Linked DNA regions of Homo sapiens: region 1 is linked to region 2. The links are contacts of gene promoters, found by promoter capture Hi-C in human tissues and cell types (Jung and others, 2019). All regions are on one chromosome and are shown on one strand. Each heading gives the region's core, a stretch centred on a gene start or on the middle of the fragment in contact. The rest is flanking DNA. Distances are from core to core; before and after follow the strand shown. Region 1 overlaps GTF2IRD1 (GTF2I repeat domain containing 1). Region 2 holds the start of ELN (elastin).

The links. Contacts are between HindIII fragments. The study calls those that stand out against the background at their distance.
Region 1: a contact is called between a fragment that was not itself captured here and the fragment with the promoter of ELN in region 2, in 1 of the 25 tissues and cell types used here (IMR-90 fibroblasts).

The regions. Positions count from the first base shown.
Region 1 is chr7:74,577,525-74,582,325 of GRCh38, reverse strand. The region is part of intron 22 of GTF2IRD1 (GTF2I repeat domain containing 1); the gene reads right to left. Among named protein-coding and RNA genes, the nearest start is that of MIR10525, 16 kb to the left of the region's middle. RefSeq lists a silencer at 552-846 and an enhancer at 809-1,310. The HindIII fragment of the contact is 6,229 bases long and covers 1-4,801 here.
Region 2 is chr7:74,026,494-74,031,145 of GRCh38, reverse strand. It overlaps ELN (elastin), which reads right to left and starts at 2,973. Exons shown (of 33, transcript NM_000501.4): 1 at 2,877-2,973. The coding sequence starts at 2,958. RefSeq lists enhancers at 1,646-2,617, 3,590-4,562. The HindIII fragment of the contact is 22,090 bases long and covers 1-4,652 here.

The DNA.
Region 1 (4,801 bases), core at 1,592-4,091, 550 kb before region 2:
TGTCTGGGAGGGAACCTGAACCACAGGTGAAGACCAACTCCCCTGTCCCCTGCCGTGTCTGGGGACCTGACACTGGGTTTGTGTCTGTGCTCTAGCCGTGCCCTGCAGGGGAAAGGGCAACGTCTCGATCTGAACAGATATTCCTGTTGGGCTCTGAGGTGTGCAGGCTGGCACCAGTCTTGCCCGACAGGAATCGTGGCCCCCGCTGCAACCGAGACAGCTCGCCCACGCACCCTGGTTAGCCCTGAGGGAGAATGCTAAGATCCTTGCTAACCCAGATGGCCCAGCCAAGCTTTATTTATTTATTTATTTTTTTGAGTTGAGATGGTCTGGCTCTGTTGCCCAGGCTGGAGCGCAGTGGAGCAATCTCAGCTCACTGTAACCTCCGCCTCCTGAGCTGAAGCCATCCTCCATCCTCAGCCTCCTGAGTAGCTGGTGCTACAGGTGTGTGCCACTATGTCTGTCTAATTTTTGTGTTATTTGTAGAGACAAGGTCTCACTATGTTGCCCAGGCTGGTCTTCAACTCCTAAGCTCAAGCAATCCACCCACCTTGGCCTTCCAAAGTGCTGAGATACAGGCGTGAGCCATCGTGCCCAGACCAGCTGAGCATCTCGGAGAGCTGCAGGTGGGGTCATGAGTCCTCTTTCCCAACAGAGCCAGGCTCCTGCCACCACCACCAGGTCGCCACCAGGGAGTTCCCCAAGGACTGCTGTGGGCAGTGGTGGCCTCGGCCTCAGGTGGGGCAGGGCAGCTCCAGCATGCCCGGTCACCTTTGAGTCTAATCTGCTCACGGGAAAAACACGGATCAGAGAATCGCCTCAGAGAGCTGCTGAGGACACTGCAGGGGCAGGAGCAATACCGGGCCCTTCAAGGCCAGGGTCACAAGCCCAGTGGTCTACCCAAGACTGATTGCCTGGGTTCAAATCCCAGCTCTGCAATCAGCTCGCGACCCTGGGCAAGTCCCTGAACCACTCGATGTCCTCATCTGTAAAGCAGCAATGGGCCGGGCATGCGGTGGCTCATGCCTTTCATCCCAACACTTTGAGAGGCCAATGTGGGTGGATCAGCTGAGGTCAGGAGTTCAAGACCAGCCTGGCCAACATGGTGAAACCTCATCTCTACTACTAATAAAAAAAAATTAGCCGGGCATAGTGGCGGGTGCCTGTAATCCCAGCTACTTGGGAGGCTGAGGCAGGAGAATCACTTGAACCCGGGAGGCGGAGGTTGCAGTGAGCCGAGATGGCGCCACTGCACTCCAGCCTGGGCAACAAGAGCAAAACTCCGTCTCCCCCCAACCCCCCCCAGAAAAGGGGGTTTAGTTTACCGTCCGGAACACCAAGTCAGCAAACCTATTCTCGGGAGGACCTGCCTGAGCTCCCCTGAACCCAGGCTGGCTGTAAAGACACCCACAGTTGCAAACATTTCAGAGTGTTCTCTGTTTGGAAATGTCATAGTTAGGACTCAGTGTGTGTAGGGTTTCACCTTCATGTTTCTGCCCCCAGTGCTGTGCAGAAAGTCCTGCTGAAAGAACCCATCCCCGCAGCAGCGACCTCCTGCCCACTGCCCCTGGACAGTGACACCTTTGGTGGACAGGCCTTCCCTTGACATTTTTCCTGCCCCCCTCCTGCTCATTCTGTTCTTCGGTCTCCTCTCTCTCTTTAACGCTGGCTGGGCAACTCTCATCTTATCTTTACCAGTCTGCTGTCTGTTAGCCCAAGGAGTAACTGAAATTTGCCAAGGGGGAAAAAAAAAAGACAACCAAGCTCACTGAATCACAGCCATGCTATGTACACAATTTTAAACCAACTGGCTCGGGTGGTGCCTGGGCTGGCTCCACGGCTCTCTCTCGGGGCAAAGTGCAAGAGCCCTGGCCAGCCCTGACTCTCCCCGCCTAGTTAGAGGACTTCAGCTCAGACTGACGACCTCACGTTGGTAATTACGACCATTCACAGCAGGGAGACGCAGCCAGCGAAGGGCAAGGGCGGTTTAGAGGGGAGAGACTGCGATCTGTAGCAGAAGCGTGGGATAATGGTCCTTCTCTCCCCTCCTGAACCACTTCACAGAGCCCCAACTCCCTGCCAGGCCCGGGCAGAGTTCACGGCTGCAGCGATTGCACCACTGCATTCCAGCCTGGGTGACAGAGTGAGACCCGGTCTCGAAAAAATAAAAAAGCTACATTCAGGTTCAGCTTTTAACCCCTTGTAGGGCCTGCGCACAGGTTTAGCAGGAATTCCATCAGCTCCATTTCATGGATGAGATAACTGAGGCCTGGAGAGAGGAGGGCCAAGCTGCAGCGGGGCAGAGACCTGTGGACCTGTGCCCAGGCCAGTGCTCATGAGCCTGTGGTTCTTCTGCCATCCCAGACCTGCACCTGGACACTGCGTGCAGGAGGGACCCTTAAGGCTTGACCCATTTTGATCCCCCTTTTCCCCACTGTATGCAGGCATTCAAGCAGGGGCTTGTCCAATCCATCCCCTACCACAGCCTGCCCTATCCAATTTCCTTCAAAAACTCATGATTTAAAAAAAAATGTAGCCTGGGCAACATAGCAAGATCCCATCTCTATAAAAATGGAAAAATTAGCTGGGCATGGTGGCCCACACCTGTAGTCCCAGCTACTGGACTCTAGCCGGAATGACAGCAAGACACTGTCTCTACCAAAAACCCATTTTACAAAGGGAACTGTAGTTTTTTTTTTTTTTTTCTTAAGATGGAGTCTTGCTCTGTCGCTCAGGGTGGAGTGCGGTGGCGTGATCTGGGCTCACTGCAACCTCCGCCTCCCAGGTTCCAGCAATTCTCCTGCCTTAGCCTCCTAAGTAGCTGAGACTACCGGCACGAGCCACCACGCTTGGCTAATTTTTGTATTTTTAGTAGAGACGGGGTTTCATCATGTTGGTCAGGCTGGTCTTGAACTCCTGACCTCAGGTGATCCGCCTGCCTCGGTCTCCCAAAGTGCTGGGATTACGGGCATGAGCCACTGCGCCTGGCCTTCTTCCTCTTCCTTTTCAAAAAAAATTTTTTTTTAGAGATGTAGTCTCATTTTGTCACCCATGCAGTAGTGCGATCCTAGCTCACTGCAGCCTTGACCTCATCCTCCTGCCGCAGTCTCCTGAGTACATGGGCCTACAGGTGCATACCACCACGTCTGGCTAATTTTAACATTTTTGTAGAGACAGGATCTTGCTATGTTGCCCAGGTTGATCTCAAACTCCTGGCTTCAAGCAATTCTTCCGCCTCAGCCTCCCAAAGTGTTGGGATTACAGGGGCGAGTCACCAGGCTGGGCCTTAAACTTTTTAACGGATCTATGCTTCTCCTCCTCTGCTTTTTTTTTTTTTTTGAGACAGGATCTCGCTCTGTTGCCCAGGCTGGAGTGCAGTGGCATGATCTCAGCTCACTGCAACCTCTGCCTCCTGGGCTGAAGCGATCCTCCCGCCTCAGCCTCTTGAATAGCAAGCATGCCACCATGCCTGGCTAATTTTTTTGTATTTTTAGTAGAGATGGGGTCTTGCCATGTTGCCCAGGCTGGTCTCAAACTCCTGAGCTCAAGGGATCCTCCCGTCGTGGCCTGCCACAGTGCTGGGTTTACAGACATGAGCCATCGTGCCCGGCTATAAGTGTTAATTGCATTCTTAGTAACAGCAAAACAATGGAAGCAGCCCAATCCCCAAGGAGGGGAGAGAGAGGAATTGCATCATGGTAAAATTCCACTCAATGGAAGATTATAGAGCCATGAGAACTAAGAAGCTACAGCTACACACTTCAGCATTATGTCAACCAAAGCTAAGTGGAAAACAGCAAGTCCCAGACTCTATTCAATAACACGCCTTTGTCATAAAAGTAAAATTATAGGCTGGGCGCGGTGGCTCATGCCTGTAATCCCAGCATTTTGGGAGGCTGAGGCGGGTGGATCGTGAGGTCAGGAGATGGAGACCATCCTGGCTAACACAGTGAAACCCCGTCTCTACAAAAAATTAGCTGGGCGTGGTGGCGGGCACCTATAGTCCCAGCTACTCGGAAGGCTGAGTGAGGCAGGAGAATCACTTGAACCTGGGAGGTGGAGGTTGCAGTGAGCCAAGATCACACTACTTCACTCCAGCCTGGGCGACAGTGCGAGACTCCGTCTCAAAAAAAAGAAAGTAAAATTATAAGCAAAATGAAATAATTTTTGTTTAGGCAAACATTACATGCAATAAAATAATTTTTAAAAAATTAACCCGTGAGCCTGGCGTGGTGGCTCACACCTATAATCTCAGCACTTTGGGAGGCCGAGACAGGAGGATCACTTGAGGGCAGGAGTTGGAGACCAGCCTTGGGTAACATAGAGAGACTCTGTCTACAAAAAATTTAAAAGTAGCTGGTACAGTGGCACCCAGCTATAGTCCCAGCTACTTGGGAGGCTGATGCGGGAGGATTGTTTGAGCCCAGGAGTTGGAGGTTACAGTGAGCTATGTGATAGTGTCACTGCACTCCAGCCTATCTCTACAAAAGTAAAAAATAAAATATGAGCTGGGCATGGTAGCACGTGTGCTTGTAGTCCTAGCCACTCGAGGGGCTGAGGTGGTAAGGATGGTTTGAGCCTAGAAGGTCCAGGCTGCAGTAAGCTATGACTGTGCCACTGCACTCCTGCCTGGGCAAGAGGGAGACTGTCTTTAAAAAAAAAAAAAATTAAAAAAGAAATCAACCAGTGAAAAATGATTATATCATGGAGGAGAACAGGCATAGAAGACAGTTTTGGAAATTTGAATAAAGACCATGTATTAGATGACAGGGAATTATTAAGTTGTATAAGTACGATGATG
Region 2 (4,652 bases), core at 1,724-4,223:
CAGGTTCAAAGAGCTGGAAGCAGCCTGTTTGGGAGCGAGCCTGGGGCCAGCCGATCTTGGCAGGGGGCTTTGCCAAACCAAAGTCCAGGGGGCTGGCTTGGGGAGCAGATAAGACCACACGAAGCTGTTTGTTGTTTGCATGCAGAAGGCTGCCAAGGGTTTTCAAAAACAAGCTGTCCTCCACTGGGTGACTGTGTCCCCTCCCACACAGGGCACATTTGCCCTCATGCCGGGGCCTCGGCAGACACACAGAGCGGGATCGACCTCTAAACCAGTGCTTCTTGGCCCTGGCGACCCCACCGTCACCTGGGAAGCCTGAAAAGTCTGTGTCCAGGTCCCTCTCCAACCAAAGCAAGCAGGGATTCTTGGGTGGGAAGTCTAATAGATAGCCAGGTTGAAAACCCCTGTTCCTACTTAAGGACGGAAAACAATAATTAAAAAAATATTTAAAAAGAGGCAGTGGCTCATGCCTGTAATCCAAGCACTTTGGGAGGCGGAGGTGGGAGGATCACTTGAGCCCAGGAATTCAGACCAGCCTGGACAACACAGCGAGACCCTGTCTCAATTTAAAAAAAATAAAAAAGGTAAAAAAATAAAAATAAAAAAGGAAAATAAAAGAAAAGGAAACCTCTGTTCCAAACCATCTTCAGTTCTGAAATCAGGAAAAAAAAAAAAAAAAATCCCTGATACTATTTCTGGGGGATGGGGAAGAATTATCCCTGGGTTAATTTCTCATGCTCACTTTTGAAACAGCCTGGGAGCTGTGCGGCTTGTCCCCTCCTCCTGCTCCCCCACCCCCGCAACAGGGTTCCTTCCTTGGAGCCGCTGAACTTGCATAAGTGACACCCTCCTCCTTGAGGGAGAAGCCAGGCTCCCCCAGGACAGCCAGGTGAGTGGCAGTGAGCATGTGACTGAGCGCTCCACTCCCTGTGTTGGCTCCCCGACCTCTGCAGACTTCAGTAGCACTTCTGTGCAAAACCCCACACGAGCTCATCAGTTCACACACCCCTTATTTGGACCTAGCAAGTCCAGCCACCTGGGACAGAGCTGAGATTGATCTCTGCAAAGTGTGAGGCCAGCTGGGCGTTTAGCGGTGTCACTGAGGACACAAGGAGAGAGCTGATTCTGCCTAGGGCATGCCTGCTTTAAGGACTCAGCCCCAAGCCTTCCCCTCCCCAAATGTTGCCTGCTAGCTCACTCCTAACCCCCTTGCCCCTTGACCTGGGGCAGAGAGCTGGCTGATACTAACCCCCGGGGACTGCCTTAGCCTGCCGGAGCCTCAGCTTCCTTGTTTGTCAAGTGATGATAATAATTTCTAATTCTCAAGGTTCCTTGATGATGAACTGCCACCCTATAGGTGGTGGCCCCATCTGGGAAGAAGGGTGGCTGGGTGTTTGGGGGCTACACCTGGGGAGGAGGCTGAGACGGACCCGGGGCTGCTGCTTTCAGGCCCTGGCTCGTTGCCCCTGCTGGGGCCCGCCTGTGGGTACCCATGTCCCTTGGCCTCATCCAGGTCCAGCAGCGGACCCTGCACAGGAAGCTGTTCAATCTCACGGAAACAGCTGCAGCTCCTGCCCAGGCCCTTGACTCCACCCCGTGGCCCTCCCGCCCCCCACTCAGCGTTTGGTTCTCATGGCAAGGAGGACTCCCGAGGAAACCAGACTCCACCCAGACCCCCCTACCAAATGCCCTCCTTTTTCCCATGCCCGGGAGCCTCTTCTGTCCTCCCCCGTTGGCCGCGGCATAGCAGCCCCACAGGGCACACCCTCAAACCCCATAACCAACTGTGCCTGGGTTGGGGCACATAGCAGATGGCCCAGCAGTGCCCCAGGATCCACTCCAGCCTCTGTCTCAGCCACACTGCCTCTGCCAGGAGACAGACACCTTCTCCAGCCCGCCTTTCCATGCTTGCGTGCCACATCGCACACACATTCACACACACAGATGTACACACTCCATAACACACACAGTGACAGTCCACACCAGTGTCACACCTGGATGCCAGATCGCCCATGTCTACATGTGTACATGTCTACATGTCTGTCAGGTGGCAGACTTTTGCACACACTAAGGAGCAGCTTCATATACCTCCTCCAAACATACGCATACACCTGCCTAAGGATGAACCTGTGAGCAGACATATGTACCCCTCCAGAAATCCCTTTCCCTGTTCAGTGACACAGCCGGGCATCTGAACACATGCACACCTGTGCATGCACACATACACACACGAGCACACAGCACGCTCATTCCTGTGTGCATGCACACACACACACACACACAAATGCATACCAGGAGTCCCTGCCTGCCTCAGCAGGGAGAACACAGCAGCAGCTTCCCAACCTGCAAACCCATCCTCAGCGGAGCCCTGACCTTCCTGACGGGGGGATCCCGGCTTCCCAGGGGTCAAGGAACCTGCTGAGGTCACACAGCTCACTGCGGTTGAGCTGGTATCAAGCCCAGGTTCCCTGTCCCCAGGGCTGGTGTGCACCCCAGCTGTGTCCACAGGTGTGCAGACTGTGGTGTCTCCAGACCCAGGGGTTCCCGCTGGGCCCTCCCCCAGGATGCTCTGATCCCCCTACAGGGCGGGCACCCGGGCACCTGAGCAGGGGCCCCCTCAGCCCTCGCAGGGCAGCAAAGCCTGGATGCTGGGCTGGGACTATTCTGAGTCGAGGGTGTCTCTTTGACAGGTTCCTCCTGGGCACGGGGCTGGCTCCTGGGAGGGGCAGTTCCGAGGACCCAGTGGCTGAGGGGCTCCCACCTGGGACCCCTTGCAGTTCCCAGGGACGAAGGTCTCCCCCTTGAGCGTCTAGTCACCTGGCCCAAAGGGCCCGCAGCTGTGGGCAGCGCTGGGGACAGGGGCGAGGGGTCCTTACCTCCAGGCCGAGAGGGGTGGAGGATGGACAGCAGGAGCAGGAGGACTCCGGGCCGCGGGGCCGCCGCCGTCAGACCCGCCATCTCGGGGAGAAATGCCCCAGCCCGCTCTCCGCACCTCGTTTTATCCCCAAAGCCTAATTGTTGCCTCGTCGGCTGTGAGGGAAAGAGGGAGGGAGAGAGGGCGGGCGGGAGGGCGGGAGAGGGGGGAGGCCTGGGGGAGGGGGCCGCGGGGAGGGGACAATTACGAAAGGCCCGGCTCACAAGCCTCCCAGGCCCGGGCTGCTGGACTGCGAGCTTTTTTCCTTGACACACACACGCACACACATGCACACAAGCACACACTCACACACACACACTTTCCCCCATCTCTTTCCCGCTTTCCCTCTGCGACTGTTCTTTCGCTGCTGGCCCTGTTCCCGCCAGAAAGAGCGAGGGGGGCCTCTGCCAGGACAGCCCTCGGGAGAGGAAGCAGAAGGGAGGGCCTGGCGGCCAGGCCAAAAATCCCAGCCCCAGCCAAGGCCCGAGTGGCCAGGCCCCCGCCCCTCCGGCTGGGCCCCGGGCCCAGTGTGAGGATACGGGCCAGCTGTCCCGCGCCTCAGCCCCCACCCCGGCCCTCCAGACTCCCCAACACCCCCAGGTCTGGCTAGAGACAGGTTCTGCCCAAAGCTGGGGAGGGGAGGCATTGGGCAGGTCTGGGGGTTTGGGGGGTGCGATGTCTACAGAGGCCGGGGGGCTGCAGGTTGAATGGCCTGGAAGGTAGGCCCGGGTTGGTATTGCTCTGGGAGGGATCTGGGGGGAAGGTAGGGGACCCTGGACAGGGCTGCATTCTGCAGGGGCCAAGGTCTCTGCCTAGCGCCTGAAGCTGGGGAGGAGGTGTTGGGTGGGTCTGGGGTGGATGCCTGCAGATGCCAGGGGGTTAGAGGCAGGGGAATGGCTTGGGAGTTAAGGCCATGTTGGTGCTGTCCCCAGGGGCATCTGGAGCACATGGAGGATCCCGACACACAGGGTTCTATTCTGCATGGGTCAAGGTCACAGCCCTATACCCAGCCCCATGCAGGCCGCAGGGTCTGGTAAAAATCAGGCTGGATCCCCAGGTGCCCTGTGGGGGAACAGGGAGGTGGGAGCCCCCCGCAGACTGACAGGCAGCCCAGCTTCCCATTATCACTGGGTCACCTCCCATCCCCACGCTGAGCACAGCTAGCGCCCACACCAGTCTGGGAGCTTCTCGACTGCTGTTCTCCCGGCCCCTCTGGGAAGGCTGACATTCCGCTGGTGGCCAGGAGGGGGCGGCCTGCACTGAAACAGCTGGGACCACGTTCCTGGAGAACTCTGCATTTCTGCCCCCAGGACTGAGCTGGACGGGGACCCTGGGGGATTTTGGGGGTTGGAGTGTGGGATGGAACAGGGGAGGGTCGTGTCCCCCACCCCTCACTTCCCACTACTGCTAGAGGAGAAGAAATGTGAGACCTAGAGAATAGGAGAGGGAAACTTGTTCCTTGTCCTAGGTCACAGCCAGTCAGGGAACAGCATGGAAGCCACACGCCCTGTGGGCTTTTCCCTGCACCACGATGGCTCCGAGGGATGAGTTAAAGACCCCTTGTGGAGGCAGGAGCACTGTGGCAGTCTGGAGTGCCAGCAGGGGTGGCTCAGCGTGGAAAGGTCAAATGCAGGCATTGGTCAAAGGCAGGTATTGGTGGACCTAGAAGTAAATTTCTGGCTCTAGCCTTTCTGGTAGGAAAACCTCTCCACAGAGCATCAGTTTCCTTATCTGTCTA